7 separate regions of the Homo sapiens genome follow, and regions 1, 2, 3, 5, 6 and 7 are each linked to region 4. The links are contacts of gene promoters, found by promoter capture Hi-C in blood cells and fetal thymus (Javierre and others, 2016). All regions are on one chromosome and are shown on one strand. Each heading gives the region's core, a stretch centred on a gene start or on the middle of the fragment in contact. The rest is flanking DNA. Distances are from core to core; before and after follow the strand shown. Region 1 overlaps WWOX (WW domain containing oxidoreductase). Region 2 overlaps WWOX (WW domain containing oxidoreductase). Region 3 overlaps WWOX (WW domain containing oxidoreductase). Region 4 holds the start of MAF (MAF bZIP transcription factor). Region 5 overlaps WWOX (WW domain containing oxidoreductase). Region 6 overlaps WWOX (WW domain containing oxidoreductase). Region 7 overlaps WWOX (WW domain containing oxidoreductase).

Region 1 (3,591 bases), core at 258-2,757, 910 kb before region 4:
TTTGTTTCCATCAATCCCTCCCATTTACAAGGAATTACAGAAGAGTGATGCCCCCTTCAAAGTGGCTCACACCTGGCTGACATCTGTTCATTAAGAATGCCTGCCTTTGGGTTCTAAGACGTCCAAGGAGCTCTTATGGGTAACACCTGTAGATTTATAGACGTTCCTCTCTGACTGTAAGGGCCATATGCCTGAATCTCTCACCCCCATGTTTATAAAACTTAACAATTGTGGAAGCAATGAATTGAAGGACTAGGGTCACCAGTGGAGTCCCATAAATAGGTTGTTTATGATCCCTGTGAAACAAGAAGACCCTCTTAATTTCATGCTTCTTAAACTGGGGTATGAGTGGCCCCAGGTTTCCCTGTTGGGGGTACTGATACCAGAGTTCATTTGAAGTCATTGGAAACCAAGGCATATTTTCTTAAAGAGACAACTGTTTTTGGTGAATAGGCCATGTTGTTTATAGTAAAAACAAACATGAATATTCTGTAATAGAAGATATCGTTTGCATGGTGTTTTAAAGCTAAAACTTGAGTTATTAAACACCCTTCTCTCCCTGGGGATGCCTTTTGCTATGGGGTTGCATCCACGGAAGAGTTTGAAAGCCCAACCATATGGACATCATATTATTCATTTTTATTTGCCATCCAGAGCTTGCCAGCAACCTTTTAGATCTCTTTCCTTGGAAGGTTCAGCAAGATGCTTGTAAATGTATGTTGCTTTGTTGCAGACAATGTATATTTAAAAAGCAATTATTTGCCCATCTCTTGTTCAACTCAGATATTGACTGCCTTTCTGTATTTCTGGCTGGGCATTGTTTATCTCCACCTCATGGTTTTTACTATGGTTCTAGAGGTCTAGCCTACAAAGAGAATGCTTCCCGTCCCCACCACTACCCACAGGACCCTCTGCATATCTCAGAGGAATTTCTCAGTGTTCCAGTTAATTTTCTCTCTGTTTCCTTTATTACTTCTAAGTTCCATTGCAAAAATATGCTGCCTGCTCTGTCAGCCACCCTATATGCCTATTTAGTCCCAGTTTTCCAGCTTCTATTTTTTTCCACATAATCCCTAACCATGATAATACAAATATAATAGAAATAATTATGTTTGTTTAAAATATACACAGAACCAAATAGTCATAGAGTAGTATTTCAGGTGGGGGGCCCTCCTCTAGGGCAGTGGAGACAATGTCACCTGTCGGGAACATTTGGCAATGTCTGGAGACATTGTTGGTTGTGGTGCGGTGACATAACTATTGGCATCGAGTGGATGGAGGGCAGGTGTGCTACTAATCGCCCTCTATTGCACAGGGTGGCCCTTACCACAGAGAACTATGCAGCTCTAAACATGCGCAGCCCCAAGGCTGAGAATTGTTGATCTAGGGGAAGATGTGATTTCATTCTTCATGCTTGTAAATTATTATTTAAGCTGTGAATACCCTCTCTTTTCCCACTGAAGTTGTGGTTGTAAGATTCTCAGAGTTAAGCAGACTCGGCAACATTACAGAAAAAAAATCAAGATGTAAAAAGGATTTAGACGTCTGGACGTGGTGGCTCATACCTGTAATCCCAGCACTTTAGGAGGCCGAGGCAGGTGGATCGGTTGAGGTCAGAGTTCAAGACCAGCCTGGCCAACATGGTGAAACCCTGTTTCTACTAAAAATATAAAAATTACCTAGGCGTGGTAGTGTGTGCATATAATCCCAGCTACTCTGTAGGCTGAGGCAGGAGGCAGAGGTTGCGGTGAGCTGAGATCGCACTACTTCATTCCAGCCTGGGCAACAGAGAGAAACTGTGTCTCAAAAAATAAAATAAAATAAAATGGATTTAGAAATGGTACAGTCAGAGGTTAGGGGTCGGGTCAAAGCGATCCCCCCAGAGACCTGTGGAAAGTGTGGTTCTGTCTACAAGCTGCGACCATGGTCTTTACTGCTTCTGCAAATACTTGACAAAAAGGGCCACACTCTTAGCTGGACTTTTCCTCCCTTTCCTGAAACAATGCCCTTCCCATTGTCAAGGCAGAAGCAGCCTCCACTGAGAAGCGTCAGACACCACGTCAGTCTTGCTTTCCATTGCTTTGCTCCAGTATCCATTTGAAATTCAGTGCAAACCCATAAATTCCACTTTGCCTCTGGTAGCAGCCTGCATGGTGTGTATATTGAACACTAGAAACACAGTAAATCCAGCCCATTTATTCACATTAACCAGCAAAGGCATTCTGCATGCCCATGTAAATACTGGAAATTACTGACATGGCCTTCTAGACCATGAAAAGACAGAAGCATATGGCAGAATTCATATGTGAACAGATTGCTTTTTCTCATAAGAACGCTTTATTGGAATATCAACTATTACAGCTTTTTGAAGTTACTCTTCCTGCTCTTGATTTAAGTCCTGAATCACCCCACTACTCTTTTTTTTTTTCCGCTGCATTCTGCTATGTATCTTTACATCTGCTTCCTGCACTTTCTAAATGGCCTACTTAAACCTTGAGGTAGGTCCTTCAGTTTCCCATAAATTAATAACACATCTATGAATATTTCCCAGCCAGTCTTAGAAGCCCCAGTCTATTCCAATACCAGGATTGTAAACACAGGGAATAGATGAAGCAAGCTGCTTCTTTCAAATGCTCTTCCAATATGAAGCAAAATATTATTGATCTAGACTGCCTGCTACTTTCATTTACCATGTTACTACTCGTGGGATTACAGGCACAAAGGTTTCATAAATTTCAAATGAAATATGAACATTTGTTGTCAAAGTACTGTTAAGGTATGAAAACCCTGCTAGTATTAGTTCCCTTTTGTTATTATTCTATTATTATTATTATTATTGTGTTTACATCCACAGGCAATCACATATTTTAGGTTGTGGGGAGCAAAGCAGCTTCCCCCCACTTTTTCTCTCACTCCAATTTGAATCCTCCCATATGTCCCTCCCTCATTTTTTAAGCAGGAAACAATGAATGAGTTTTTGCTCCTCTTGCCCTATTTGCCGTGTCTCTTTTCTGTGATTCGGGAGCACATTGATACCCTTCTTTTGGAGCAGAGAAGCTTGTCTTTCATGATAGAAGTAGGTCATGGGGGCGGTTAGCTGACTTCATCAGAGAGTAGCATGCAGATCCCACCTGTGAGGCTATGGTCTGCCAAGGAGAGTTCAGCGGGCTGGATCAGAGAGAGCAGAGCCATGCTGGCAAGTCGGAGTCTTTGTGGAAAGCAGCCAAGGTCACAGCTGGAAATAAAACTGTGTATTCCAAATCAGAGGGGCAATGCAGGAATGGATCAAAGGAATGAAGGATCAAGTTGTCAGCCAAGAGAACCAAGAGCCAGACACAGGGAACCTGTGACAAAAACGAAAACCAATAAAAACATATATTGAGCATTGACCAGGTGCCCAATATTTTAATGTCCCATGGGTGTGCATCAGGTACGCTGTGGAAGGACAGATGTCATTCCTTAAAGGGGCTGCACTGAATTAGACCAGGGGTTCTCAAAGTGGGGTCCCTGGACCGGCAGCATCACCATCACCTGGAAACTTGTTAGAGATGCAGATCTTGGGCCCCGCCCCAGACCTCCTGAATGTGAATC
Region 2 (3,787 bases), core at 1,167-3,666, 880 kb before region 4:
GAAAAGAGTTCAGTTGCAAGTTAAAGAAAACACAAGTAAAGCTAACTGTAACACACAGAGCTTTGTCTTTTCTTGCTGAATAAGAAGCTGAGAGGGAGGCAATTGCTGTCACTGGTCCAGCCGGCTCAGCAACTGCACATTTGTCAAAGTTCTTCATCCCCAGCTTTGTGATTCTCTAGGTTATTCATTCTTCTGGGATCGTAGATGGCCACCACAGGTTCACTGTGGAAAGAGGGGTAGGAATTTTTACCAGCTGGGTCTGACTCCACCCCACCCCCACCCCTACCCACCGTTTTTTGTTTTTGTTTTTTAAGATGAAGCCTCACTCTGTTGTCCAGGCTGGAGTGCAGTGGTGTGATCTTGACTCATTGCAACCTCCGCCTCTTGGGTTCAAGCGATTCTCCTGCCTCAGCCGAGTAGCTGGGATTACAGGCACATGCCACCACACCCAGCTTTTTGTATTTTTAATAGAGACAGGATTTCACTATGTTGGCCAGGCTGGTCTCGAACTCCTGACTTCAGGTGGTCTATCCACCTTGGCCTCCCCAAATTCTGGGATTACAGGCATGAGCCACCGTGCCCAGCCGTGTCTGACCATTTTATCAGGAAAAGCAAAAGCTTTTCTAGAATCTATCAACTCCCTTCTGCATGTGTCTATTTGGCATGGGCTGTGTCACATGACCCCTGAGCTGCAAGGAATGCTGGGATACGATGGAAGCCTGCCAGAGGTAGAGCCTTGGGAAGGGCTGATAGGGCCTCTAACCTAAATGTCCACCACCAGAGGTATTACAGAGGTTTGAGCAAGAAATTATGGTGGTCCCAGGGATGATGCATTCTGATAATCATTATCATCAAGAGGAATGTCTAAAGGAAAGGGGAAAAAAAAAATCAGACAGTCACATTGAAATGAGGTCCTTAAGATAGGCCCTAATCCAATATGCACATAAAGGGGAATTTTGGGCACAGAGACAGAGGCAGAGATAGAGGGAAGATGATGTGAAGAAAAACATAGGGCCGTGTAGAGGCAGAGGCAGAGATTGAAATTGTGCTATCATGAACGGGGGAATGTCTGGGACTGCCAGAAGCTCCTGAAGGCAGGAAGCATCCTCCCCTCCAGCCTTTGGAGGGAATGTGGCCCTGTTGACACCTTGATTTCAGACTTCTGGGTTCCGCAACTGCAAAAGAGTACATTGCTGTTCTAAGCCACCCAGTGTGCAGTAGCTTTCTGCAGCAACCCTAGGGATGAATGCTCCTGCCAAATGCTGCCTGCCCTTCAAGATGAGTGTTATTTGGCAGAGGAAGATGATGCACTGCTTATTTTAGGGGATGCCCTCACTTTTGGGTCCCTATGTCACCTGTGTGTACTCCATGCCAGTGTCTTCCCAGCCCCTGCCAGGCAAGTTCGTGTGGTTCTGTGATAACCCTCATCTCTATAGGTTCTGTGATAACGCTCCTCTCACTGTGCTGCTCCTTGGGTGACATCACACCCAAGGAGAATCATGGGACCACCTCCAGAGAGATTTTCTTAGAGGTGTGGAACAGAAAAAAAAGCGTCTCTATTCGAATTGCAGGATCTTCCTTATAGTCCTGGAGAAACGTGGCCCAGCATTGTCTTGGTCCATAGCCTGAGCTTACCCTCCCTACGCAACCACAGCTGTGTGCAGCTTCAGCCAGGTTTGCTTTACCTGATCTCACTGGCTTCATGTTTATTATCTTATTTTCAGTTTCAAAAGGGCATATCCTGCCCCCTTTCCCAAGATCAGAGGATAAGGAATGTCTTGATGTTCTCAGTCGTAAAATTAGGCTAATAACACCTCCCATGGTTGTCTGTGAGGACAACAGAAAGTAATGTTTTCTCTGAAAAGTTTAAAAGGGTAAATGGCTTCATCACATGGTGATGACAGTGATTATTCCAAGAGATGGCTGTAAGCTCCCTGAGAACAGAGGTGCTCTGTGTAAATCTAGTCTGTCTCCCCAGGCTTAGTGGTTGACCTAGACTATACCAAGAGTAAGTGTGTTTTTTAAATTTAATTTAAATCAATTCATTAAGCATTGCTAAATTGGAAAACCATGGAATATAGAGATCCAGTAGTTAAGAGCCTACTGGGAGAGACAGCATAATAATTACAATAAGTGCAGAACTTGCAATAATGTAATTGAAATAATGTAATACAATCCTGCTTAATATTACACTGTATATATTCATTGACTTATAGACTGAGCTCCTTATCTTGTTCATTGCTATGGCTTTAGCACCTTTTGAACAGTGGTGCTTGGCTTTTGGTAGGTGGTCAACAAATGTGTATTAAGTATATGAACTGTTGGAAGGGTCTGCTGTGAAGGATGTGATTTGCTCTCTTTGATGGTGGACAAAGAAGGTTTCCTGGTGGAAGAGATTAATGAGTTGGGTTTTGATGAATGAATAGGAGTTTCCCCAGACACACGGAGGAGACAGAATGGAATGAAAGAGGGGTTTTCCAAGAAGAGGCACTGAAGGGCAAGACTTCATTGCTTCTTTGATACTCCAATGCCGGCTTCCTTTGGGTTGGACTCTGATGGATCTAATCGAGGATTAGGATGGAGGTAGGTGGGAACATATTTAGAAGGATGCCCTGTGGTTTTTCTCCTTCCTGCTATTTATATTTCCCTCTCTGTCTTTCCCACCTGTTTGGTGATGAGGAAGGAGCTGTGTACTGGTTTGAAACCTATTCACGACATAGTGGACCCAACACCAAGTGTCTTATTGTAAATGGATCCACTTTTACTACAGTTACTTTAATGGCATCTAAATGATAAATGTTAATAAGCATTTTTGCTTGGGAAAGCACAATGGTATTAGCCTGCCAGACTGCAAACGTTATTTGCTTTATGGAAGGGGATTTCAAACAAGGGGTTCTGGTGGTTGTATTTTTGCCTCAACGGTTATTTATAGAGAAAGTATGGGCCATTGCATGTTTATAGTATCTCTTTTTTATGGCTGCCCAAGTTATTATTTTTTATTGGTTTGGGTACTTAATTTGCACATTTGTAAACAATTATGTAGTTACACAGCTGTTGTACCACAGAGACCATATGCATTTCCATGTTAAGAGAAAAGTCCGTGAGGGATTCTCACTGGATACCATCATAAAAGAATTATTGTGGTGCCAAAAAAATTTAAAAAAACGACTAGCTCAGAAGTTATCATTGTGTTTTTATAGTATTTGGAGTTAAATAAATTTAATGTTTTTTTGCTCACTTGAGTTGGAGCCAAACTTTATAACTGAATAGGAGGGTTCTCTTTCCCATATTTGAGTAGAACACATGATGTTCAATAAAAATGAATTTGCCAGTCAGAAAAATTTATCTTTTAGAAAATTAATACACTGAGCCAAGCATGGGTGGTCCATGCCTCTAATCCTAGGTACTCTGGAGGGTGACGGTGGGAGGATCCCTTGAGCCCAGGATTTTGAGGCTACCCTGAGCTATGATCACACCACAGCACTCCAGCCTGGCCAACATAGTGAGACACTACCTAGATAGCTTAGGAGAGTTCCAATGTTTCTGAAGGATGTTTTTTTAAAAGAAGTATTCATTTAGGTGACACATATTTATTGAGACACTAATATATGCCAGGAATTATTCTATTGGTTCCTTTGGAGGAGACATGAATAAAGGCATGGATGTGACTGAGGAGGTAAAGGTGAAGAATTGGGGAGGGGTGGATGGGGCTGACTCATGACCTAAAGAACATGGCATCTGGGGCTCTCTTGAAATAATCTGCACTAACCACTCATTCACATTTTTT
Region 3 (3,306 bases), core at 368-2,867, 840 kb before region 4:
CAATAGATCTCCATATGCAGAGGGGTAACTGAGTACGACTCTGGGACTTACACTAGAACATTCATATTGCAATAAAGCAGATTTTTCCTGAGCACCTACTCTGTGCCAAAGCACTATTGTAGGCTGTGGAGATAGGGAGCTGAAGTACTGAAAGCGTTACAGTCAAGGGCCAGAAAACCATTGTTCAAGCAGTTGGCGTATGGCTTGATCTGTGTTTATTACAAAGCGATACTTTTCCTTCTAAGTACTGCTTTACCTGCATCCTGCAAATTTTGGTATGTTGTATTTTCATTCTCATTAATTCAAAATATGTTCCAATTTCCCATGTGATTTCTTCTTCGACCCTCACATGTTTATTACAGCATTTACTTGTTTCTGTTCATCCAGAACTCATTGAATACCTGCTATCTACCAGGCAGTGGCCTGGTCACATCTTCTGACCTCAAGTAGTTTATAGTCCAAAAAGACATTGGCTCTTTGGGATAGAGGCACTTTTTGGGGGAGAGAAACATGAATGCAATTTTTTACATAGAGTATGAAACTCTGTTCCAAATCTCTCAAACTCAGGTTCTTTGATTCTTAAGGTATTTTTCACTGCCGAGTTGCTGTCATTGAAACAAAATCTGTCCTGGTCACCACTGTATGCCCAGCACCTAGTACAGTGCCCTGAACATATTAGGTACTCATTAAATACTTGTTCCACGAAGTTGTTATTTGGTATTCACGAGTTTTGTCTCAATTCCTTTTGATTCTTCTTTTCACCCATCTCATGTTGACTTAATTTCTCCAGCATTCAGTTAAGACCTAGCCGAAGCATAATTGTCAGCATAGTAGAGCTGGCTCTCCTCTTTCTAATTGCCCTGCAGAGTTTTTGGGGAGTCTGTATGCAATTGTGTACACCCCAATGCCCCAAAACCCTCTTCTATTTCCTTTAGCACTCTTGAGCTGAAGAAGCCCCACTCTCCCTCTGCCCCACATCTATTGTGGGCTGGGATACATGTTGGGCCTCTGCCCAGATCATGCTTGGAGTGGCACCAGCTGCGTAGGATATGTGAAATATTTGCTCAGAGAGATCCAGAAGGGTTGATGTGAGTAGGATCAGCTGGTGCTCCAGGATAAAAATCGTGTCACCACTTTTGCCGAAAAGTCACTGTGTTTCTCCTGTACTCAGCAGGTTACAGGGTGCCATATTGTTCTCAGTCTTCCGGCTCTACCCTGTTTTGAAGTGCGGCCGGGTGTTGTTAAACGGCTCCGCCTTCCTGCCAGAATTTCTCCGTGGGGAGGAGCTGCCACCCAGTCCAGTGAGTATGGCCTTTTGGTCAGCATTGCAGAACCTGGCAAGTCCTAATTCCCTGTGAGCTTGACACAGGAGGCCGCCTCCTCCTCCAGGCCCACTTGGAGGCATTCTGTCCTCTTGTTGGAAGGGAAATTGGTATGGTAGGGAGGTGCTTCTTCTGGGAGTGGGTTTGTAAAATTAAGACTGTTTTCATCCAAACCAGTTACCTGTTTGTCTAGAACCTGTGTTCTCTGCTTTCTGCCTCTTGTGTTGACATTTCTCCTTTGGCCTTCATCTGTTACTCGCTCACATGTGCCGTGCCCCGGGTGGGTTTGGAAGCCATGCTGCTATGGTTTGATTCCTGGCTTTCCAACATTACCTTTGATAACCAAGACAAGTGGCAGTCTAAGCCTCAGTTTCCTCATCTGCAAAATGGGTGCAATTCTAGTACCTCCTTCCTAAGGCTGTGAGGATTCAATGAGGTACTGCTTGCAAAGTTTCTAGCACAGTGTCTTGAACACGGTAAACAACTTACCTAGGTCTGATCTCATTTGATATTGTTGCTCATAGCAAAGGTTTGTTGAGTTTACTATGGATATAACACTTGTTCTTTTTTAAAATAACTTTTAAAAACGCAAGTGTTGAATTATCTGCATTGTGCCTTTAGGGCATACACATCTGCTTACAATATTTTTTGAGCTTTCAGAAAACTTAAGATATGGTTGAGGGATGCAGGAAGGAACAGGACAAGAACCCAGATCCCTGCCCAACAGGACAGTGGAAGGGAAGTCTCAGCATCTCGAAATGAGTGCCTGGAGAGGATGGGTGGCGGCTGTGCGGGGATGTGGTAGGGTGATGGTCCTTGAAGGATGCTGCAGATCACAGTGGCCCCACAGTGTGGGGATTGGGGTGGGATATGTGACAACAAAGGCATCCCTGGCAGAGGATCCAGCACGAGCAAAGGCAGAAAGTCCAGGAAGTGTCAGGAATGAGAAGAGCCCAGTAGAGGATGGGCTTAGGGACAGTGATGAGACCTTCTGGTAGAGGCGTTGAACACTAGGGTGAGGGCTTTGCTCTGACTTCAGGAAGCAGGTGAGAGGCCCTGAAATTTCCACGTAAGATTCGGGGCCGGGCACGGTGGCTCATACTTATAATCCCAGCACTTTGGGAGGCTGAGGCGGGTGGACCACCTGAGGTCAGGAGTTCGAGACCAGCCTGGCCAACATGGTGAAACCCCATCTCTACTAAAAGTACAAAAATTAGCCAGGTGTGATAGCGGGCGCCTGTAATCCTGGCTACTCGGGAGGCTGAGGTGGGAGAATTGCTTGAACCCGGGAGGCAGACGTTGCAGTGAGCCGAGATTGTGCCACTGCACTGCAGCTTGGGAAACAGAGTGAGACTCTGTCTAAAAAAAAAGAAGAGTTGGATCACAGCAAAGGTGAGCTTTAATGAGTTCACTCTGGCAGTTGTGCCGAGGAGGGACTGGCATGGAGAGAAAACAGAGGCAAAAATCACAACCTCTGTCAGAGAACTCATCGCACTATTTCTGTCCTGCCCTGGGATGGTGGAGCCTAAGGGAACAGAGAGGACAGAGTGGGTGGCACAGGCATTGCGGAGGCAGAAATTTACGTGGCTTCCATGCCCATTGGTGTGAGGAGTGAGGGGTGATCAGGGATCCCAGTGGCTTGAAAGTATAACAAAAGTATGACTAGATCCAGGAAATACAGCTGGAGAGACCCAAGTCTGCACAGAAAAGGTTTACAGAGCCCAGGCACACAGATGACATGAGCAGTTCCAAAGGAGTGGGACGGGGTGAATGATTTGTGGTCAGAGGTGTGGTCACACATACCGTCCCCTGATAGTCGGTGGGAACTGGGTCAGGTTCCATTTGCCAGGGGCAGGACATACTGCGTGCCTTGGCCTTTTCTGGGCTACTCAAAAAAGGATTCCACCAGGTAAACTTGAATCACCTAGCGCTGGTAGAAAGCCTTGCTCTTCGTCATCTCTCCTGTGTGTCGCTAGCCTTATTA
Region 4 (3,542 bases), core at 570-3,069:
GGTCGACTTGCTGCAGCAGCTGGTTCTTCTCCGACTCCAGGACGTGTCTCTGCTGCACCCTCTTGAAGCGGCAGGACTGGGCATAGCCGCGGTTTTTCAGGGTCCGCCTCTTCTGCTTCAGCCGGATCACCTCCTCCTTGCTGACCCCGCGCAGCTGCCGGTTCAGCTCGCGCACAGACATGGTCACCAGCTGCTCGTCGGAGAAGCGGTCGTCGAAGTGCAGGCCGCCGGCGGCGTGGTGCGGGTGCAGGGCGCCCCCCGCCCCCGCCGCGCCCCCGCCGCCTCCGCCGCCGCCGCCGCCGCCGCCGCCCCCAGCGCTGGCCGGGCCACCGCCGCCCGCGCCCCCAGCGCCACCGGCCGAGGCGGCCGCGCTGCCCGCGGCGCCGGGCGCGCCGGCCGTCGGGTGGTGGTGGTGGCCGGCGGCGTGGTGGTGGTGGTGGTGGTAGTGCGGGCCCGCGCCGCTCTGCGCGGCGGCCGCGGCGATCACGGCGGACACCACGGCGGCGGCGGGGCCCATCTCCTCGCCGCTGCCGCCCAAGGAGGCGCCGGCACCGGCCCCGGCCGCCGCGGCCAGCTGCTGCGCCCCGCGCGCGTAGCCATCGAAGCCGCCCTGGAGCTGGTGGCTGTTGCTGATGAGCGCCTCGACCGCGTCCTCGGGGCTGAAGCCCAGCGCCTCGGGGTTCAGCTGCTGCGGGTAGCCGGTCATCCAGTAGTAGTCTTCCAGGTGCGCCTTCTGCTCGCTGCCCGAGCCCGGGCTGGGCGCCGAGAAGCTGGGGGAAGGGGGCACCGAGCTGCACGGCGTGCTCATGGGGGTGGAGGACAGCGAGCCCCCGGCGATGAGACGGCCGCACTGGCTGATGATGCGGTCGGTCTCCACCGGTTCCTTTTTCACTTCAAACTTCATCAGATCGAAGTCATTAACATATTCCATGGCCAGGGGACTGGTGGGCAGGTCGGAGTTGCTCATTGCCAGTTCTGATGCCATTCTCCTGCCGCCGCCGCCGCCGCCGCCGCCGCTCCGCCAGATGGGCTGCAGGAGAGGGGCCAGCGGGCTGTGCTGGGTGGCCAGCGGGTGAGCCAGCTTGCCGGGCTGGGGCGCTTCTAGCTTGCGCGGCGGTGGCTGGCCCGAAACCTCCGAGCGCGCTCACACACACACCCCCCCGCCCTGCCCGCGCCCCCCGCGCCCGCCCTCCCTCCCCCCTGCTCACGCCAATGTGCTCCCTCGCTCGCCCCGGCCCCTCCTTGCTCGCTCGCCTCCTTGCGCGCCGAGCCGGCGGCTTCAGGCTCGGGAAGATCCTCCGCGAGCTGCGGTGGCGGCGGTGGTGGCTGCGGCGGCGAAGCTGGAGGAGCCCGGCCCGGTGCGCGGCGTCCCCCGCTCGCCGCTCCGCTGCGCGCTTTGCATAAGGAAGGGCTCGCCTCGCCGGCCCGGGCTGCAGGCAGGGCGCGCGCGGCGTCCGCTCGGGGCTGGAGGCGCGGCGGGCGTCTGTCCGGGCGGCGCGGGCCTTGGCACGGGGGAGTTAACACTTCATGCTTCTCGCCTCCTCTTCTGCTTGGCTCTCTTTATTATTTTTTTTCTTTCCTCTCTCTCCCTCGCGCGCTCTCTACCTCTGTGCAAAGTGCAAGGCAGAGGTGCAGCCCGACTGGAGGAGAGGGAGGGGGGAGTTTAGTTCTTTCTTGCCTTTTTTTAAAAAAGCAAAATAGCGAAGTCCTGGGGAAAGACGAGGCAGAGAGCAAAGGGGGGAGGGGGAGGCCAAGCCGACAAGCAGCCCGAGCTACAGCTAGAAGATGAAAAAAGATTTTAAAGCCTCTGATCCAGCAAGAAGAGTTTAAAGCAATTGCTGAGTTTTATAGCACTCGTGACGTCAGGTCCAAATGAGAAATTGACTGGCACTCCGGGCCAATGGGAGGCGGCGAGAGCGGCCGCGATTAGCATAATAGTATAGAAACAAGGAAACTTTTCGGAGCTGTCAATCAGGGCCCAATCAGCTGACTGTCAGCTGGGACGGGCTGGCTTAACCCTTCCTGCGCCGCTGCCTACCCGGGAGGGAACGAGGCCCGGCGCAAAGTTTGGTGTAAGAGGGGAAGGAGTTTTTCCAGAGGGGCTTCGGCAATCCGGGCGGACCTGGGAGGGCGGTTTGCTTTTCTTTGGAGCGCGAGACAGGCCTCCCATCCGGAGCCCCAGCTCGCTGGGGGCTCACTCGGCTGGGATTGGCCTGATTCCCCTCCCCTGCCTGCCCTCCACCCCCAGGATTGTGAATTCGCCTCCCAGCTTTTCCTCCTCGCACCAACTCTGGTACCCAGGTGTCTGCCGGGGACCTTCCTTCCCTGAGCCTGGCCGTGCCCGGCGCTCAAACTTGGCCCCAACTCTTTGTCCGTCTCTCGGGCGCCCGTGCGGGGAAGGGACCGGGAAGGGAGGGATGCAGTGGGGTGTCCGGATCGGGGCTGCGGGCTGGGCGCCGCCCGGCCATGCGCCTGCCCAGAAGGCTGGGCATCCGTGGAGAGGGAAAGCCCATTTTATCCCTCTCTTTACAACGAGGTAAAATAAGTTGTTTAGAGGCCATTCTTCACGGAGACCGGCTGCCCGCTGGCGTCGCGTGCCCTTGGACAGAGCGAGCGCCTATGCGAGATAACTCCGGGGAAGCTCAAAGTCAGGTCAGCCGGGCTCAGCCTTCCGGCTCCTGACTGGCCGGAGTTTGGCCTTTGAGACTCATATTGCGCGCTCGCTCTCTCTCTCTCTTACACACACACACACAAACACACACACACTCACACTCACCCGTCCCCTTACGAAATCTGACCTCTGTTTATCAGGGTCAGGCGCGCCCTTTGCACTTTTACGTTTCCTTTAATTATTTCGGACTTGATCGTGGCAGGGAGCAAGGGGGAAAAACAATACCCCAGCCCTCACCAGCTACCCTCGAAGGGTTAAATTTTAAACCGCGGTTTCTGGAACTAGTCCGGAAACGCAGAGTGGGGGGTGGGGTGGGGGAGGCTGCTCCCCCCACCCCCAGTTGCAAATGCTAATAAGTAGTTCAAATTTCTAGATTGATTCTCTAAAAGTTTATGCAAAAAAGAAATAAAAAAGAAAAAGAAAAAAGAAGGAAACCAACAACTAACTCTGTTTCTAAGATTTTAAAGCGATAGGCAAGTCGAAGAAGCAGAGATTTATTTGGAGAGAAAGCTCCTGAAACCGACCCAGCCTTTGGAAGACCAGCCCGTCTGCTTAGAAGTTGGGACTGTTGATTCCTTCAATTAATGAAATGCATTTGGTGTTTTTAATCGTATTTATTTTACTTTATGAGAAGGGGGAGACGCTAGGAGGGTGCATTAAAAAAAAAAAAAAATTCTGAAAAGCCTGCAAAAGGATCGAAGAGTGGAAACTATTGTTGGAGCGAGTTGGTTTTTACCTCAACAGCGCCACCTTTCGGCAAAGGTCAGTTGAAATTGATCCGTGTCCAGTTTTGTCGATGAAGTGAAAAGCAGCTGGTTACCCAGTGTGGGAGGAGGAAAGAGACACACAAAGTTAGTTTGACTGAAGTGGG
Region 5 (3,686 bases), core at 480-2,979, 660 kb before region 4:
GTATGCAGATTCTTAAAGCATGAATGCTGTATTACACACATTATAAATTCGAGTAACAGAAATGTTTGTGTGTAGAAATAGAATACGGAGTATATATTTTGTATTAAATAACCTCTGTGGTATTTGTTTACCCTGATTTTTTGATTTATGAGTCGTCATTGCTCGCTATAGAAGAAGAAAAATAAATATGCAAAACAGTGGTAGATTTTTAATGGGGTTACTTCCCATCTTAGCTCAGTGTTTCTCTACCAAAGCTGACCTTGAAATTGCTTTTTAGATACAAGTCAAAATATGCAAATTCCAGAATCAGGAGGAGTATCCGGTGTTAGGAGTTCTTTCGAAGTCACATTTTTACATCATTTCCATCGACATCCCGTGTTCCATCTGCTTCTTAATCCATTAGTACCTGAGTGGGGGTATATAGGTTTTCTCAAATGCTCTAATCTCCACAGAAGTTAAAATATCCCTAAACAGGCATGTGCACATATGTCTTTCTTTCTTTTCTTAGGTTAACTTTTTTTTTTTTTTTCCTTTTGAATGACCACAAAGCATATCTACCCAGCGGGGTTACTTTTTTTTTCCCTTTCAGTATTCATGACGTCAAGTCCCTGTTTGTTATCTTATTGTCCTCTTATCCTGGTCCTTAGAGTCTTTCAAGAGAAGAGGTTGATCCCGGTGTAATGTACAGCTTCATTCTAATAAGTTGTATCGATCATGTATTTTCAGTCACTCTTCATGTCTATGCTGTCCATTTGCTTGGATCCCAAGGAATTTTCTTCTGCCCCCCCACCCCATCCCACTCATATTTCATAAGGGTCTTCTGGAACCTGCATGGTGTTGGGATGTATATATCACTTTTCCCTTGTTATGACCAGAAAGACTCACAGCCATGAATTTCACTGAAGTTTATGATTGGTCCCTGATTGCCTCACATCTTGCAAAGAATCCTCTTCTAGAAAGCGTTCTTGCAGTTAGATTAACAAGCAGATATACTGAACTGGTGCATGAATGAATAGGAAATATCCCAGTTGCAAAGGATAAATCTATCATGTAGTGGAGAGCGTGTTCAGGCAAAACATTTGGTTCTGCGGTCGCTTGGAGGATTGGGCCCGTGCTATAATTAATGCCACTAGCAGTAAAAGGACATTAGGGATGTCGCGCATGTTGATTATTTCTTCATTTTGTTTATCCAAGTTTCCCCGCCTTGGAAGCTCCGTGGCCATTGCCAAAGAAAGCCCTGGAGACAGAGCGTTAGCCGTTGCTCCTCGTAAGCGCATCATTACCTTCCTCCGAACAAAGTCCTTTTTTTTTTTTTGTCAGTAGAGGGTGAAAACATTATTGGATTCAGGAGTTCATAGTAGTCCTGTATGAAGCTGGGGACGGGGGGATAGAGTTATGAAATGGACCATTTCAAATGGCATTATCTTCCCACAGTGAGGTACACCTTTCATAAATCATAGGAGAGTGCTCAGAAAATAGAGCATTTGTTATTCCTGCAGTACATTGTATTTGCATCCCCCCTACTCACAGGAAAGAAGAAATTCTCAGGTTTCCTTTCCCAGGTTTGAAAAGGCAGTTAATCGCCTTACAATGAAATTATATTTTTAAAAAAGGTATCATAATCAAATAAAAGAAGTACTTCATGTAAGTCAAGGATTGTGCTTTTACTACTATTTTTTCTTTTTTTGTAATCATGGTGGTTCTTTTTGCCCACTTATTTAGGCCTTAATTTAATTACGGCGCTGATTAAGTTCTTTGGTTTTATTTTTTACTGTAAACATTGTGCTGTATTCCGTAGGAAAATGTAGATGAATGTGGGTCATTGGGAAATAAAGTGGGTGGAAGTATTGGCGAGCATTTCTTTCCCACTCTCTACCTCGCCTGGTCTAGCCGCTGATAGGTAGTTACTCTTTAGTATGCCCAAGTTCAAATTACGTATGACTGTGATTCTAACACGGAAGCGCCCTCCTTTTCTAGTAGCTTGGATGTGATTGGTATGGAGAAGCAGAGTGGGTGCGTCTTTGTGTGTTCTTGACATAGTTAAAGAGTTTGGTATAGTCAATTCCCTTTAAAGTAGTAGGCTTCTTAAATAATTCTAGTTGTTCCTCGTGCTGCCAAGCCATCTTGAAGAATTTTTCTTCATTTGTAAGGGGTTAAAAGTCATCAAGCTGATTGAAAAGTCAAGAACCTCTAGCGCAGCCTACCCCTTGCATATTTGATACTCTCTTTTGCACTCTCGGGAGCAGTTTTGAGGACACACTGTAAAAATGTATGACAGCAGTTTGAAGATAAGTCTGTTGCCCCAAATAATCATAAGAAGAAGACAGAAGAAAAATTGATTCCCGTAGCTCTCTGGGCAGTGGGATGGGGGTAAAGCAAGGAATTAATAAAAACCCACCAGAATACATTATTTCAGACAATCAAGGAGAGCGTTACATTTTAAAGGTACTTCATCTCAGAAAGTTTGAGACATACTTTTCACACGTGGCATGAAGAGAAAATGGAATGGAATGAGCACTAATGAGGACCTTGAACTTAACTAACTGAACTTGATGGTCATCGCAAGACATAGGGGAGAAATATTTTGAGACATCATTGTGCAGGCAAACATGAGCAAGAAATTGAGAAATCCGTTCATGCACTTCTCTCTGGTTTCCCGGAAGGGATGAATTCCAAATCCCGTGGCTCAGGTCCTAGGTCAAAGACAGCTCTTTAGAAAGAGATGTTCTTTGCTTCTTTGCTGACTGCCCATCCCCTCCTCTCTCTCAAGGAAATAAGATATTCATTTGCAAGTAAATAATGCAGCAGTCTTGGATTTGTATCAGATCAACTTTGAATGAAAGCCTGCCTTTCTGCGTTTATTTTTGCTTATCTCTCCTGCTTCTGCTTCCTGTTTTGTTAAATAAGGGCAATGACGGCAACTATTTTAAATTGCTATAAAGTTTTAGCTAGACAGCGAATCAAGGTGGCAACACATGGTGGGTTCTTAAATAATAGTTGTCATTTGAGTGCTTTCTATATGATGTACATTTCATTTTGCACTTTACAAATAACCTCTTCCTTTTTCTGTTTAATCTTAAAAAAGATCCCGGGAGGCAGGCGTTATTGTGCCCATTTCCTGGATAAGGAGAATGAGGTACGCTAAACGAGTAAAAAGCAACCCGAGATCCAAACCCTTTGGCATTCAAGATTACACTCTTATTCACTAACTGTTCATCTCCTCCGACTGCATCGCCACTCCCCCAGGCCAGATAACCCATCCAGACCTGGAGAACTCCTAGAGGGAGAAACAGGGAGGACCCAGGCACATAAACTTGCAGAGCAGCTGAGTTATCAGATCTTCCAAGCCATGGGGTTATCGAGCTTTATCAGAGCAGCCTTGCTCTTGCAGTTTCTGACACATCACCATTGATCAGTCCTGGGAAACAAACAAAATAGAGGGCGATGGCTCCACTCTGTGTGGCCCCGTCAATGGCCTGGACGCAGCTGAAAAAATCCAGAAGAGTGTAGGACACTGGAAAAGTAGCAGGGTGTGCGATTGCAGGGATGGGACCAGCAGTAAAAGGTAGCCCTGCCAAGACCATTAAGCTTCCTGCAACTCCTTCTGGATCCCACAATTTGAAGGGGAAATCTTTCCCACCGCACATCACTGTTTGGTGGACTAAATGGCTCCCCGATGTCCCGAA
Region 6 (3,650 bases), core at 297-2,796, 700 kb before region 4:
CTGTAGGACAGTGTTGAACAGAGGTTTTGAGACAGACATCATTGCTTTATTCAGGACTTCTCTATTATATGTGATGCTAGTTGTATGTTTTCTGTACCTATACTTCATTAGATTAAGGAGTTTGAATTTATTTCTAGTTTGCTGAGAGTTCTTTTATAAATGTGTTCATATATATATGTTTTATATTTTTCTTATTCTTACTATCTGCATATTAGAGGGAGTTTAGCTCATTGGTTAAAAGGATTTGTTCCGGAAACCTAACTCCAAATCTTTGAACTTCCTAGAAACCTGGCCTGTTTATTTACCCCGTATGTCACTTTCCTTTATCTGTAACTGGAAAATGTGTACGAAGAGCTTAATACAATGACTGATACACAGTGAGTTCTCCATAAATGTTAGTTATTATTTTAATATTACAGCATCTGTGGAAACAGTGGGTTTATATTTCAGCGTCCTGAGAAACACTCATCCTGAACAACGGGAACATTGGCCACATCCGCCATTGTCAATTTTAAATAAAAGATATGATGACTAGTTGGTGAGTTGATCTTGTAAGACTTTTACAGATACCCAGAACGGCTCTACTTCTTCATATTCCACTTTTTAGTTTTAAAAGTTTAAGGAGATCTCTGTGATCCCTGAAGAATTGTGTGCAAAGCAGCATTAAGACGAAAATCTTTTATATTTGTGTTGTAGCTTGGAAAACTAGCGCGTGGTCTGTTTTGTTCCACTGGCTCCTAAGGTTCAGGTATTAACATAAATACAGCCCATTAACACTTGTTCCTCTCTGTCAGGACATAAATTAAGTCTGCAGGTGTTCCATGAAGCTGTACCCTTGGTACTAATTAAGCCTTGATAATTAGGTTTGTTAAATTCAGGACTTTAAGCTTATATTCCCTCCTTGGGCTACCAAAACGGAGATGTGCAATATACAAGCCCTCCTGACTTTTTTTTTTTTTTTTTTTTTTCCTGCAGAGAGCGTTGCTGCTCCTTCTCTATTTTATTTCTTTATTACTGTTTTTTTAAATGAAGGAGTCAGTAACAAACCGTTCATCATTTTGCCAGAGTAGGGTGTAAACCTTCATGCAGACCTGTACATTTGTTTATGACGAGATTAAAGTCTTTTCTCCTCCTGTTTTGTGTCAGCTCAGACACTGAAGGGGAAAGTTTCCAGCCTGGTTTCTCCATACACTGAACATGTTGAAATCTATGCCTTAAGCCCAAATGAGCTGTCACTCAAGTATGCACGCTCATATTATTAAAAACTGTGCATGTAATTTGCTGGGCACCCAAATAATTTGTTTTTTATTTTTCCTTAAAAATGAGACTTTCTGTTAGGAAAGTGATTCATGAAACAGTGAAGATCCTGCCTCACAACTTTCAAGAAACCCACAGAGGTCCCTATTCACATAAGAATTTTCTAAGCAGAGGTTCCAATTTGGATATTTCGTGGCCTTCAGGTTATTTGTAACCAGTACACAAACCACAAAGTCATAATCAGATAGATTTTCTTTCCAGCCTGTCTTTCCTCTTTGGTTGCTTTGTAAATCTATTACTCATCAGATCATATGTTTGGCAAATGCCACTTTTCATTTTGAATCAATGGAATCATAAAAAACAATTCTACTAGTACCACTTTCAAGAATATTCATAGTGGTCATGCTAACGTAATAACCTCTCTTTTTTATTTGAAGGATATTAAATAAAATTGTACTTTTAATCAGAGCCTTTTTTTGAAAAAAAAAAAAAAGAAAAAGATAGTTGATATTGTGGGAGATGGCTACAATACAGATTCATCCCATATTCTCTTTAATGTTCTATTCCCAAGAAGAGCACTAATTAATCTCTCTAGAAGGGTACCACAGTTTCCATGAGCGTTCATATTTTGAAGTTTCCAAGAACATGTTCTACAGAATGGACCACTGCTCTCTTTTCAGACCCAACCCTTGTATCAGAGTTTGCACACATCTAGAAGTTCCGGTTCTCCCAGTCATTACCTTTCTCCTTCAAGCTGGGATTCAGAGTCCATTTTCATAGGGCAAAATGCAGAGTTCGGGTTCCTTCCTATCCATGAGAGTAGGTGCTGAAGGAGATAAAGGAATGAAGACATAGACTTTGAAAGCAATAGTCTGGCAATCATCCAAAGGTTTGTGGGAGGACAAAAGATCACAAAGTATGTGTTTGTGAAAATAAGACTATGTCATGAAAGCTTTAGAATATCCAACACATTATAGAATATTTTCACGGAAATATTTCGGATGGAATTTTGGCTTTAATTCTTTCTCTTTTTTTCCTGTTCTTTTCCCTCTCCCCACAACCACTTCTGTTTCATTTTCTGTTTTGCTCCTTCTTTTCATAAGTAGCTGGTAGTCAGTGTTCTCTTTTTCTTCCTGTGAGACAGGATCTCCCTCTGTTGCCCAGGCTCGAGTACATTGGTAGGATCTTGGTTCACTGCAGCCTGTGCTTCCCAGACTCAAGTCATCCTCCCACCTCAGCCTCCTGAGTAACTAGGACCACAGGCATGGGCCACCACGCTGGGTTAGTTTTTGTATTTTTTTGTAGTAACACGGTTTTTTCATGTTGCCCAGGCTGGTCTTGAACTCCTGTGCTTAAGCGATCCACCTGCCATGGTCTCCCAAAGTGCTGGGATTACAGGCGTGAGCCACTGCGCCTAGCGAGGTAGTCAGTGTTCTAAACACTGGTGTACAATCCAAGTCTGTCGCTGCCCAGGATAGAGGAGGGATGACGTGAATTCACACGGGCCTCTCCTACAAATCTGAGTGTACATCAAGTGAGGGGCGTCCCTCCGCACCTCACTGTTGGGCTGATCAATCCCATTCCCACTCCATTATGTGTGTATTTCTAAGTGGCAGATTTGCCTTAGGAAATGGAAGAAGGGGATGAAATAGTGACCAACACAAATTACTGGGTTGGCGGGAGTTGAGAGCTGGCAAAATCGTCTTGGAGAAGGAAATGGTGCAGATTTCAGAGCTGGCAGACAGCATCTACATCCACCTCTGCAGGAAGCAAGGGAAACATTTTTCTTCTGGAGAATCGGGCAGCCTGCAGCTGATCCGGTGGTGTCTGAAACCATCCTGTGTGCTGTAGTGTCAACAACTTAGCCTGGTTACTTTGCCACCAAACCCCACCAAATGCCTTTGTATCTTTTTCAGAACTGCATCTCTGCAGCATAATTGATATTACAGGAATGAAAAGTGTTCTGAGGCATATTATTCCCAGGGTAAAGAGTCACCGCTGATTAATTACCTCAAGGACAAGGGGACGGTGACTTTTTCTCTTGTATCCAGCAGCGCCACGCGGGGCGGGCGGGAGAGGCAAGGCTAAGAGGTGGATGAAAGGCTAGGGTTAAGGCATTTCACAATGTCAGGCATCTTGTTAGACTGCGGCTTTCCAGGCCTTCCCCCGTGACTGCTGCGGGGGCCTAGGCCAAAGATATGCCCGAGTAGAAAATCTGACACCAGCTTCCCAGTTTTCTCTTCTGCTCTCTTTGGCTGCAACGCTTTTACCATGGGTAAACCATTAGGCCGGCTCTGCAGGGAGGGCAAGACCACAGCAGCTCAGTATTTCCTGCTCAGGGAAAAAGGCCAGGTCTTTTGTTGGTGGAAATCCACTTTTCCATCCACTGTCTT
Region 7 (3,338 bases), core at 465-2,964, 610 kb before region 4:
CTCTCGAGAGGATGAGACAAATGGATTGTGAAACTGGAAGGAGGGTTTCTCATTTTTTAATCCATTGTTTTAGTGAGAGTTTAAAGCTTTCCTATAAAATATGTGGGTTGAGAAAAATTGGAAAAGACCTCTTCAAGGACTTTCCTCTATGCTCCCTCATGTTTCAAGTGGCTTTTTTGCATGATGGTGCATATGTCTTTGTTTCTGTACAGGGCCCTCCATGTTCAGAGGCAGAGTAACGTGAATTCATTTCGCGCTAATGAGAGTTGCGATATGTCGGCCCAAACTCTCTGTGTCCTTTTCTTCTTGGGCTGATGAACTTGTCAACTTTTAAAAAATGTGCTCTCCAAAAATTTCCAGCAGGACTTTCCCACCTTGCTGTTTAAACAGTGAATCAGCCCTGTGGGCTTTGCTGCTTACAACATGATTCCGGTGAAACCACAGGTCTCGTCATGTCCCTTCTGTATCCATGGTAGTCCCAGTGGGAAAGAGGTAACAAACCCAAATTGAGTAATTTCAAGAAATTTTAATAACAAAGGGGCTATTTTATAAAGGGGGGGTGGTCAAGGTGTAGGGAAACATAAAAGAGAGCGAATTTCTGGTCTGGTGCTGTGGGTCACGCCTGTAATACCAGCAGTTTGGGAGGCCGAGGCTGGTGGATCACCTGAGGTCAGGAGTTTGAGACCAGTCTGGCCAACATGGTGAAACCCCGTCTCTACTAAAAATACAAAAACTTAGCTGGGCATGGTGACAGGCATCTGTAATCTCAGCTCCTCGGGAGGCTGAGGCTGGAGAATCACTTGAACCCGGGAGGCAGAGGTTGCAGTGAGCCAAGATCACGCTATTGCACTCCAGCCCAGGCAACAAGAGCAAAACTCTGTCTCAAAAAAAATAAAAAAAAAAAAAAAAGAAAGAAAATTAATTTCTCAGAGGTAGTAATAGGGGTGGCTGTCACCATCCTTGGCCAAGGAGAGGGAGCAGATACTGGAGACAGTTGAAGGTGCCAGGATGGAGAAGACTCCTTGGAAGGAGCTGTAACCTTTGGTTGAGGAATTCAGCCTACCACTGGTAATACTCCCTCTCCCCAGGAGAGGTCCCAGCGGAATAAACATCCCCGCCCCTTCAACTCTTTGCCATTGTTCAAGCCCTGCTAGAAACCAGATGGCAAAAGGAAGTTACTGATGTGTTCATATTGGTCAACTTTTTCAGGCACGAAGACCAGTACAGAAGGATGGAAAGTGCATTTGGGTAGGGAAATGGGAGATTCCTGCATAGCTGTCAAGTTAGTTTCTTCCCAGAGAGAAAGACCGGTGGCTGTAGTCTGTGCCCCACTCCCAGCCTGTCCTTTCTCAGCCGTGGCTTGTGTGCATCCCTGGGGCCAGCATGTTGCTGCGAGCCCCAATCGATCAGTGGAGAAACGAGCTCTGGTGGGCAGTCAGGCAAAGCAGATACACGTGCTTCTTTTCAGCTTTGTTGGAAGGTTTCATTTTGCTTCAGGAACTAGGCAGGAGAATTCCTGAGTTCCTGTACAACCTGAGTTCTCTGTTAAAACAAGGAGGAAGTAATCATCCTGAGTTCGATGATTCAGAGTAAGCCATTTAACTTGTAGAGCTTTGGGACTAACAATGATCCCTTTTTGGAGTCCTTAATTACTAAAATTATCAGCATATTTAGAGTTCTGAAGATGCTGAACCCTTATTGTATCTCCCCAGGGTTAGTGAGTAATTGGGAATAGTGTTCCATCTTGGATGCCCCCATCCACTAACCATCTTTCCTCTTCGGGTGGTTCTAAGAATTCTAATTCAATTAGAAGGCCTTCTTTTTAGTTTGATTAGTTCAATATCAAGAGCTAAATACATTAGCTTATATATATGTCTGATGAACTCATCTTTGCTTCCTTGGATCCCCAAGATAGAATGGCCCTGATGCAGTCAAACCACCCTGCAGAATCTTAACAGCACCACAAATATTGCATCCAGGCATCCTGCCCATGCTGGCTTGCAGGCTGGGGATCCCTGTCCATAGCGCCCATGGCTCCACCACCAGTCAAAGGTAGTGGGGCCAGCAGTGGACTCCTGTGTGGTTCAGCTCTCAAAAATGTGAACTGAAAGACACAGAAAAAGACTTGTGTTTGGGGATAAATACTGAGACTGAGCAGTCTTGTGGATTCAGGAATTGGGCATCCAGTTGGGACCCTTTGCAAGAAGGGTGTTAGGGAGCAGAGAGCATGAGTAAGCCAGAAGCAGAGCAGGAGAGAGAATGGAGCAGGTGTGCAAAGAGGGCGGTGAGATGCTGAGAGTAATGGGGCTGGCCCAGGAGGAAGTGAGAGGAAGCAAAGTGAGACAGAGGTGGTGTGTGAGCGTGTGTGTGTGTGTGTGTGTGTGTGTGTGTGTGTGATTGAGAGAGAGAGAGACAGATGGAGGGAAAGAGAGGCGGGGGATTCCAGGTACAGTGGCTCATGTCTGTAATTCTAGCACTTTGGGAGGCCGGGGCGAGCAAATTGCTTGAACTCACGAGTTCGAGGCTAGCCTGGGCAACACGGCAAAGCCCTCATCTCTACAAAAAATACAAAAATTAGCTGGGCTTGGTGACAGACGCTTGTAGTCTCAGCTACTCGGGAGGCTGAAGTGGGAGGATCTTTAGAGCCCAGGAAGTCTAGGCTGCAGTGAGCCATGACCTTGCCACTGCACACCAGCCTGGGTGACAGAGGGAGACCTTGTCTCACCAAAAAAAAAAAAAAAAGAGAGAGAGGTTGAGCTCAACTGATCAGCATCTCAGATTAAGGGCCTCCATTCCCCCCATGCTTTGTAATTGCTGCCTGTTTTCCATGAAGCCTGACTGTGCATTGGTTCTAAGTCATGGGCTCTGCAAGATCCTCCTTGTGCCTTGAGAAGGGCCCTGTCCGCAGCCTGAGGAGCCTCAACTGTTCTCTGCACGACCTAGTTCTGGGCTAGGGAATGGCTGTCTAGCTTCAGTGGATTTCCAGAGTCCGGAGCTACTAAAGGTCAACAGCTGTGTTACTGCAAACTCTGTGGCCTGCATTCTATCAATGCCAAAATGCACATCACACTGACAACAGCTCTTTGTTTACACCGGGGAGCCCCCAAAGCCCCAGGGTAATTCCATCACCACCCAAGTTGTAAGATGGTAGAGCGAACAGGCCAGAATGTGATAAAGTAAAATGAAAGAAGAAAAAGGAGGAAGGAAAAAGAGAGAGGGAGAAGCACATAGAGGAAAGAAGGAAGAAGGAAGGAGGAAGGAGGGAGGGAGGGAGACAGGGAAGGAAGGAAGTCTGGCAAGAGGGCACAGTCAGACCTGCCAGGATCCCTCTGCTGTCT

What was found. Contacts are between HindIII fragments. The CHiCAGO score rates a contact against its expected background, and 5 or more counts as called.
Region 1: a fragment that was not itself captured here is called in contact with the fragment with the promoter of MAF in region 4 in 1 of 17 cell types (M1 macrophages); the score reaches 5.2 in M1 macrophages.
Region 2: a contact is called between a fragment that was not itself captured here and the fragment with the promoter of MAF in region 4, in 1 of 17 cell types (M0 macrophages). The highest score is 5.1, in M0 macrophages.
Region 3: a contact is called between a fragment that was not itself captured here and the fragment with the promoter of MAF in region 4, in 1 of 17 cell types (M0 macrophages). The highest score is 5.2, in M0 macrophages.
Region 5: a contact is called between a fragment that was not itself captured here and the fragment with the promoter of MAF in region 4, in 1 of 17 cell types (monocytes). The highest score is 8.4, in monocytes.
Region 6: a contact is called between a fragment that was not itself captured here and the fragment with the promoter of MAF in region 4, in 1 of 17 cell types (M1 macrophages). The highest score is 5.9, in M1 macrophages.
Region 7: a fragment that was not itself captured here is called in contact with the fragment with the promoter of MAF in region 4 in 1 of 17 cell types (M2 macrophages); the score reaches 5.5 in M2 macrophages.

The regions. Positions count from the first base shown.
Region 1 is chr16:78,692,408-78,695,998 of GRCh38, forward strand. The region is part of intron 8 of WWOX (WW domain containing oxidoreductase); the gene reads left to right. Among named protein-coding and RNA genes, the nearest start is that of WWOX-AS2, 190 kb to the left of the region's middle. The HindIII fragment of the contact is 3,096 bases long and covers 1-3,055 here.
Region 2 is chr16:78,715,191-78,718,977 of GRCh38, forward strand. All of the region lies in intron 8 of WWOX (WW domain containing oxidoreductase), which reads left to right. Among named protein-coding and RNA genes, the nearest start is that of WWOX-AS2, 220 kb to the left of the region's middle. The HindIII fragment of the contact is 3,600 bases long and covers 617-3,787 here.
Region 3 is chr16:78,762,995-78,766,300 of GRCh38, forward strand. The region is part of intron 8 of WWOX (WW domain containing oxidoreductase); the gene reads left to right. Among named protein-coding and RNA genes, the nearest start is that of WWOX-AS2, 260 kb to the left of the region's middle. The HindIII fragment of the contact is 4,674 bases long and covers 1-3,306 here.
Region 4 is chr16:79,598,918-79,602,459 of GRCh38, forward strand. MAF (MAF bZIP transcription factor) reads right to left here and starts at 1,820. Exons shown (of 2, transcript NM_005360.5): 1 at 1-1,820. The coding sequence starts at 985. It overlaps LOC101928230 (a long non-coding RNA gene), which reads left to right and starts at 1,970. Exons shown (of 3, transcript NR_188556.1): 1 at 1,970-2,072; 2 at 3,130-3,433. RefSeq lists an enhancer at 1,735-2,029. The HindIII fragment of the contact is 16,856 bases long and covers 1-3,542 here.
Region 5 is chr16:78,940,161-78,943,846 of GRCh38, forward strand. The region is part of intron 8 of WWOX (WW domain containing oxidoreductase); the gene reads left to right. Among named protein-coding and RNA genes, the nearest start is that of WWOX-AS2, 440 kb to the left of the region's middle. The HindIII fragment of the contact is 3,714 bases long and covers 1-3,586 here.
Region 6 is chr16:78,899,112-78,902,761 of GRCh38, forward strand. The region is part of intron 8 of WWOX (WW domain containing oxidoreductase); the gene reads left to right. Among named protein-coding and RNA genes, the nearest start is that of WWOX-AS2, 400 kb to the left of the region's middle. The HindIII fragment of the contact is 1,322 bases long and covers 886-2,207 here.
Region 7 is chr16:78,987,461-78,990,798 of GRCh38, forward strand. The region is part of intron 8 of WWOX (WW domain containing oxidoreductase); the gene reads left to right. Among named protein-coding and RNA genes, the nearest start is that of WWOX-AS2, 490 kb to the left of the region's middle. The HindIII fragment of the contact is 3,260 bases long and covers 85-3,338 here.